Regions from separate parts of the Homo sapiens genome. Here region 1 is linked to region 2. Evidence: promoter capture Hi-C in human tissues and cell types (Jung and others, 2019). All regions are on one chromosome and are shown on one strand. Each heading gives the region's core, a stretch centred on a gene start or on the middle of the fragment in contact. The rest is flanking DNA. Distances are from core to core; before and after follow the strand shown. Region 1 overlaps SLC25A13 (solute carrier family 25 member 13). Region 2 holds the start of LMTK2 (lemur tyrosine kinase 2).

Region 1 (3,953 bases), core at 1,401-3,900, 1.9 Mb before region 2:
TTTAAAATATTTTAAAGATAAGACATTTAATAGTAAGAATCAGAGTTCTTATCCTATTTAAAAGAATCTCCTCATTTGTAGCCATCTGCCAGTTTCGAACCAGCCTGCCTCAGCTGAAACTCTCTTCTGGGATCCCAGTCTTTCTGGAGCCTCCACCACTGGCTCCTTAAATGGGAAGCATCTGTTGGCCCTCTGTCCTCACATCTTCTCACTCTACTCTCCTAGACAGAGTGCTCTCTCTCTTAAGCCCTCAAGGATTTCTTAAAAGCTAAGGCTTAACTCCCATATTCAAGTCTCATTCCTTTCTGCTGGACCAGAATTTCTGTTTAGAGAATATATCCACGTGGGTATCGTGTAAAGGCCATAAAATGACACATCGCTAACCCCATATTGTAGATCCCCCAACCCAGTGCTCAAACCTGGTCTCTCTTCTATGTTCACAGCTTAATTATTAGGCATGTAGTTTTATTGGCCACCTCACCTAGAAAGCTGTCATTCTGAATTGTTCAAGCTTCCTTTCTCCCAGAGTAAACCAGTTACCAAATTCTGTCCCTTAGGCCTTTGAAAGTTTGCCCAAATGCACCTTTTCCTTTTTGTTCCTGATGCTACTGGTTCAGACTTTCCTCAGACCTCATCTAAATTATCACTGAGAGTCAGTGGTTCTGACTGTCAGTCTGGAGCTTGGGCTTGCAGTCTGGACCTCTGTGGTCTACCATGCACACATAAAAAGTTGCTTTTCAGAATTAAAAACCTGACTCCCTCCCCCTCCATGGAAATCTCCAATGACCCTTCATCATACAGACCCGTCTCTGAAGCAAGGCATACAAGCCCCCAGAGGAACTAGTCTTAGCCTCATCTCCTATCACCCATGCCCACCCCTGCCAGACCTGCCACACACCTGGGCTTTTGCCCACATCGTTACTTCCACCTAGTGTAGACTGCTGCCCCTTTCTCCAGCTCCTGAAATCCTGCCACTTCCTTTAAGCTTAGCTCAAATGGTACCACTTAGGCAAATATAACCAGGCCTTATAACTGGAAATAACTGATGTCCCTTCCGGTGGCCCCCTGTCTGAATATCAATTATAAAACTTGTCTTATTTGATCTTACATCATAATCAGTTATTCACATTCCTGCCTTTACACCTACCTTACCAAGGAAAAGACAGTATAACCTTTTGAAGTCCTGTAAGCATCTACTTACATTTATACATGCAGCTCAGCAGAATGCTTTAGATGTATAGTAGGTGCTCAATAAATGACAGGCATTCTCATCAGTGAAAAGTATTCTGTAAAACCAACTGAATGAACAAATCGTGAGCTATTGAACAATGGGAGGTTCTCTATATGAGTGCTTCCAATTAAGGAAGAAGAAATCAACTGTTAAACACCCTGTAGTGAAAAATGACCACAGTGCGTATTCAATTGAAAGTAAATGAACAGTCTCCTTTGAATTACCAGACCCATTGCTAAAGCTAGCTAAGCCAAGACTACTCTCAACAATAGTAGAAGGTATGTTCAGCGATTTACCATTTTCCCTAGTTTATAACTCAACATCTTAGAGATCCTCAGACAATTATACCAAAAATGGCACCGCTTTCTCTGGCAACCCCATCTCCTCAGAAAGCAGGAAGCCACAATGCTAAGACCAGCCTGTCCAGAATTCCAGATTGGGAATGGATGCCAAGGTGGGGGCTGGTGCTCACATAGCAGGACAGGGGACATACCTGTGATTAGGACAGTGTTACAACACATCCTGTGCCCACGCTTCCATGATTAAACATCTATGAGCAGGGACCCCTCAAGTTGGAGTAAGAAAGTTATTTTAAGTCTGATGATGAACAACCTGAGAATACATTTCCAACAGCTCTTAAAGATTGGGGGCATTATAAGTTCCACAGAAGACAAAATGCTAGATCTATGTAGTTCTCTAAATAGCAGGACAGAGTGAAAACACGCAGTTAGGTGGCTCTCCAACTTTAAAAGCAGCATTCTGAAGACGTGGGTTGCCTTCTGAAGATCATCTGTTTATGTCGTGACTGTTTCTCCTTCCGGGTGAAGAAATGAAACCATGACCTCAACCAGTATGACAACCATGCAATAGCACTTAGCAAGCATGTATTATGCAGCAGGCACTGCTGTAAAGCATTTTACAGGAATTAATTCATGGAATGCTTACTGCAAGCCTATAAGGTAGGTACTATTATTAACCTCACTATAGCAGTTGAGCAAACTAAAGTCTCACTGACAGGAAGCAGTAAAGCTGGAATTCAAGCCTCAGCATTTCTACTCCCCAGCCCTCTATCTACCCATGCTCCTAATACTTCACTCAACTGCATGGGGAACCTCAGACAAAGCTACTGTCAGGAATTTGATTAAAAAATAAATTTGACACTAAGAAATCTTAACAGCTGTGGAAAGATAAAAACTCAATTTGCATTTAATGCTCTAGATTTTACTGTTGCCTATTTTTGTGGAAAAATAATAAAATTCCCTAAAGTTTTCCATTAAGGCAAAGGGCTTCTGTACACCCAGAGCATCAGGATTGTTTTACCAATAGTAGCAGAGACCAAGGAGGAGAGAAACCAAATCTAAAAGGCCTTCTCCTGGCCTCACTCCCTTTTTGCTCTCTTTCCCATAGCCCCAAGAGACAAAGGAGGAAAAAATTAAATCAGGAGGCCAGTGGGAGCTAACACATAGGTTACTCCGTAAATATGAAAGAAATGTGTGGTCTTTGAAATAAATGACTAGGCTCACTACTCATGGCAGAATGACTTAAAATCAAAGCTCCTGGTTTGCACCTCAAAAGCTATTTAATGAAAATCTGAATGTATACTATGGGTTGTCAAGAGACTGACAGCTCCTAGATCTCAACTCAGAAGGGATAAAACAGAGACAGAGAGCTTTTAGTATGCATGAAATATAGCATATACAAAATAGTATTTATTTCTAAAATGAAGGGGATCAGAAGTAAACGAGTCATCTGTGCAGAGGAGGGGAGAACAATATGGGCAGTAATCATTACATTCACATATTTAAAAGTTAAAAGACTATCAAGTAAAAAAAATATTAGGCTGCCCCTCTATTTCTTTTGAAAAAATGGAGAGATGCTATAGGGGTCAGAGTTTAGCACAGTACACAGAAGAAGTCTTTAACCTATAGAACTATTCAGCAGTAAAATGGGCTACCTTGAAAAGTAGCAGGTTCCCTGACACCAGAAATACGTGTTCAACCATAGGCTGAGGAACACATGTCAAGAATTTAACCTTATCTTTAATAGAGGGAGTTATGGAAGCCATACATTATGATGACAATAAGAAATCTGGAACAGGCATGGGTAGAGCGTAAACAGAAGTCATGACACTGCCACCCGGGAGAGCTCAGGTGATTGTTTGCATCTTAGAGCCTCAGATTTTCTTCTACAGAATAGGCACAACACCACCTACTGTGCAGGGTTGTAAAAACCAGAGGTCATGAATGACAGGCATTTAAAAAACAGTGGCTTTGATTTTTGTCCAGGTGAAAGGTTTAAAAACCTCTAAAGTCTCTTGCAATATGAAACAGTGGTTCTGCTCAATCATTCTGAACTAGCCACAGGAACGGAAAAATGAACATCAGCCAGGATGGAGGATAACAAAAGCTGAATGCTTCAACACTCACTACAGACCAGGGGCTATGCCAAGAACTTCAAAGACAGCATTTCACTTAAGCCTCACAATACTTCTGTGAAGTAATGATTATTATCTTCATTTTACACAGAGGCACCTGAAGTTCAGAGAGGTCAGGTAACTAGCCTAAAGTCACACAACTAAAAAGTGGAAGAGTTAAGATCCAAAGCAAGGGATGTCAGCTTTTAAAACTGAGATTCTTAACTACTAACTTATGCTGCCTCAGGCAAAATCATAAATAAGGGGGTCATAACTAGATTTGGACAGGTAGGAAAAGAGACTTTAAGA
Region 2 (4,043 bases), core at 83-2,582:
TCAGCCTCCCAAGCAGCTGGGATTACAGGCATGCGTCACCGTGTCTGGCTAATACTTTTTGTATTTTTAGTAGAGATGGGGTATGACCATGTTGGCCAGGCTGGTCTTGAACTCCTGGTCTGAAGTGATTCACCCACCTTGGCCTCCCAAAGTGCTGAGATTACAGGTGTGAGCCACCGTGCCCAGCCAAGCCATGGACTTTTAAATTCAATGTTTCTCGTTCCAGGTATTTGTCTCCTTAGATATTTATTGGCTTGCCTCAATCATCCAACAAATATTCCCTGGGCATCATCTGTGTGTCCAGTGCTGTGTTAACATCATCGACAGCTGGCATTTAGGATGGACATTTGGGGAGTTTGGAGAATTGGGGAGGTTACACTGTTGCCAGGTGGCAAAGTCTCATCTGATAAGATTGAAATCAGCTCCTCTCATGCACACACTGAACCATAGCGCCTCTCCAGAAAAGCTTAGCATTTTCCCAACCCCCATGCCTCTGACCACTATATTACTTGTGTCTGGAGAGTGCTTTCTCTATCCTCTCTGCAGGACTGTGTTCTCACCTCACCTCTTGGTGGGGAGAAGGCCACCCCTGGGAGCTGCTCTGCCCTGGTACCTGGGACCAGGGCCATGCACCATTGCTTTAGAGAACACCTGCTCCGACCCAGGTCCTGCACCAGGGATTTCCCACCAGCTGAATCAGACACAGTTGCTGTCCTCAGGGAGCTTACAGTCACGGGTCAATAGGATACTGCAGCTAGGATAGCAGTCCACACAGGGCCAGGGCGGGGCACTAAGGAGATGACAGTCATTTCTCCTAGAGAGTCATAGATGAAGTCATATGTCAGGTGAGTCTCGACAGATGAAAGGAAGAGTGTCTGCCAGGTGGACAAGAGGCAACAGCTTGAGCTCAGGAGGTGAGTCAGTGGGTGATGCCGAGAGAGGCATTCTCTTGATCAATTCAAGTGAAAAGCCCAAAGCTGTTTGATGGCTGAGAGGATGTGTAGGTCAACTTAAGGAGAAGAGCCTAAAACAGCTCTGACAAGTAAAAAAAAAAAAAAGGCAGAAGACAAGACAGGCCTATTTTTGCATGTTATAAAACACCGAGAAAAAAATATCAGGATGATTGTCATGGTCTTCTTTACATTTTCCTGTATTTTTCAATTTAAAATAATTGTTGGTGTTACCTGCTGCCCACGCACTCCTCCGTCTGCAGGGGGCGCACCGGCCGCCACCGCTCACTCCTTCAGGATGATGGGCGGGGCCTCCTGGGCCGGTGTGGACTGACGAGTGGCTGGCCGCCCTGTCCATCACGACATCCCGCCCCCGCGCTACGTCACATGACGCAGCCCATCATGGCGGCGGGAGCGCGGCTTCCCAGGCCCGCCGCTCCGCAGGGCTGCTGGCGTTGCTGCTGTTGAGAGGCGGCGGCGGCGGCGCAGGCGGGCGGGAAGGATGGTGTTTCTGCGACTGGAGCGGCAGGTGCGGACCGGGAGCCGGACCGAGGTTTGGCAGAAGCAACGTGTGCTCGGGAGCAACCGGCGCGGGTGCCACTGAGGCAGCGGAGGGAGGCAGGATCGACTGACGGGCGAACGGACGGACGGACGGAAGGCGACTCGAGGGCCGGCCCCGGAGCCGCGCCGTGGGCGAGATGCCGGGGCCGCCGGCGTTGCGGCGGAGGCTGCTGCTGCTGCTGCTGGTCCTCCTGATCGCCGGCAGTGCTGGGGCCGCGCCACTTCCGCAAACAGGTGCAGGTGAGCGGGCCCGCGGCGGGGACGGGGCTGCGGGGTCTTCGGCGTGGAGGGGAGGGGGCGGCAGGGCCGGGCCGGCCTCGGCGCCGAGGAATCGGAGGGCCTGCCGGGGGCGGGAAGCCCAGGGAGGCGAGTGATTAGGGAGATTTCTGCCGCAGGGGCGTGGGATTTGGGGGGGCGGGAGCGAGGCGACGTCGTTGGGGCTGGGGAGGGCGGCGGGCGAGGTAGCAGCCACCGACCCCTCCCGGGATAGGCTGCGGTGCCGGCCCTGGACCTGTTGCCTTAAGATCCTCAGCTTATATCGCTTCCTGGCAGTTCAGCTTCCCTTTCCAGATGTCACCTGCCTCTTGTGCTTTTTTTTCGCATCTCATAAGAACCGTTTCTTAGCCCTAATCATACTTAAATGCAAATGACTTGGCGAGCTGTGCGGAGTTTGTTTTCGCTCCTTGCAACTTATTCTGAAGTTGTAAATTGATTTTAGACGCTGTGCTTTTTATTCGGAATGTATCTCCGGGGATGAGAAGGAAACAACTATAAATATTTCTATTTTAGGAAGCCAGTGATTAGAGTAGCAGGCGTTGAATAACTATTGACAAACTGGCTTAAGGGTGATGGAAGTTTCTATTTTAGCTAACGTCAGTGTATGATTTTCTTTTCTCCCCCCCCGCCCATTTTCTCAACATCGTTTTTATTTGGGGTTTATTTTCCTAAATAAAACTTCAACCCAAGAAAACATCCCAAGTTGGGTCATTTTTCTAAAAAGGAAAAAAAAATCTAGGCTAACTTGGCGTTATTGACTGCCGCCATTACCTTTGAAATGGGGAAAGATTGAAATTTCATACATTCATAGAATGTTAGAGTTAGAAGAGACCTTAAAGAAAATTTAGACCAATTTCTTCTTTACGTAGTAGGAGATACTGGGCATGTTGGGTCAAATGACCTACCCAGGGTGACACAGCTTCGTTGTAGGCAGAGCCCCAAAGCCAGGTCTTAGATACCCCTAGTTGTATGATTTTTTTTAAGTCTTGTAACTGTTTTGGAATACTCTCGAGGTCAAGAGTTATTTTGGAATAATGTTAATTGGGTACAGAATGTGGATGTACTGTCTCCAGTAAAGACATATTTTTCAAACAAATCTACGATGAAAGCTACATGTAATTGCTTCCAGAGCTACATCAGGGTTTGTCATTGAGTGCCCTTTAGTTGAACGTTAAATGTCCTCATTGTACCGTATAATGTAGCACTAAATTTCTGTTACTGCCTTAGATCAAATACTTGTGAGGTGAATTCTGTTTTCTGATCCGATAGATAAGAAGAGTAAATGTTATCAGATGTGTATAGGCAACCCCGGAAAGAGTCACAGGAAATGCCTGGGAAATAATGAAAGATTATGTGGAAGGATGGTGATGTTGATATTTAAAGATATTGATATTGAAAGTTAGCACTAGTATAGTGTAGTAGGTAAAGAGTATTTATATGATGGGGATTCAAGAAATTTCCAGATGACTTTACACTTAATTGGATTTTTATATATTTTGAAGTATCGATTCTTTATAGGAACCTATGTCTGCCTGCACACTTTTTTTTTTTTTTTTTTTTTGAGACGGAGTCTTGCTCTGTCACCCAGGCTGGAGTGCATCATCGGTGCGATATCAGCTGACTGCAACCCCCCCCTTCCGAGTTCAAGCAGTTCTCTGCCTCAGCCTCCTGTGTAGCTGGGACTACAGGCCCCTGCCACCATGTCCGGCTAATTTTTGTATTTTTAGTAGAGACGGGTTTCATCATCTTGGCCAGGCCGGTCTTGAACTCCTGACCTCGTGATTCACCCGCCTCAGCCTCCCAAAGTGCTGGGATTACAGGCGTGAGCCACCGCGCCTGGCCACCTGTACACTTCTTACACGGTTTTTATTCCATTCTTTTACAATTTTATGGTGTCATGAATTATAAAATGAATTTTGTTGGGGTGTTGTAGAACAAAGCAATCAGAAAAGTTAATCTGTAAATAGAGATATCAAATCTTGACATACATATAGCATAAGGAAATATTTGGTAATTTGTAGCAACTTTTGCTACAAATTTTCCTTTCATATTCTGATCTTTGTAGGATAGGTGTATATGTTTTGACGTGTTGCATATGAATAATGGGTACCTAGGGTTAAAGTCTGTGGAAAAGACGCACAGTCAGGCCGGGAGCAGTGGATCACACCTGTAATCCCAGCACTTTGGGAGGCCCAGGTGGGTGGATTGCTTGAGGTCAGGAGTTCGAGACCAGCCTGACCAACATGGTGAAATTCC

What was found. The method cuts DNA at HindIII sites, captures the fragments that hold promoters and counts their contacts. A contact is called where the count stands out against the background at its distance.
Region 1: a fragment that was not itself captured here is called in contact with the fragment with the promoter of LMTK2 in region 2 in 1 of the 25 tissues and cell types used here (lymphoblastoid cells).

Annotation. Positions count from the first base shown.
Region 1 is chr7:96,194,807-96,198,759 of GRCh38, forward strand. All of the region lies in intron 5 of SLC25A13 (solute carrier family 25 member 13), which reads right to left. Among named protein-coding and RNA genes, the nearest start is that of MIR591, 23 kb to the right of the region's middle. The HindIII fragment of the contact is 3,805 bases long and covers 749-3,953 here.
Region 2 is chr7:98,105,530-98,109,572 of GRCh38, forward strand. LMTK2 (lemur tyrosine kinase 2) reads left to right here and starts at 1,333. Exons shown (of 14, transcript NM_014916.4): 1 at 1,333-1,751. The coding sequence starts at 1,649. The HindIII fragment of the contact is 4,738 bases long and covers 1-4,043 here.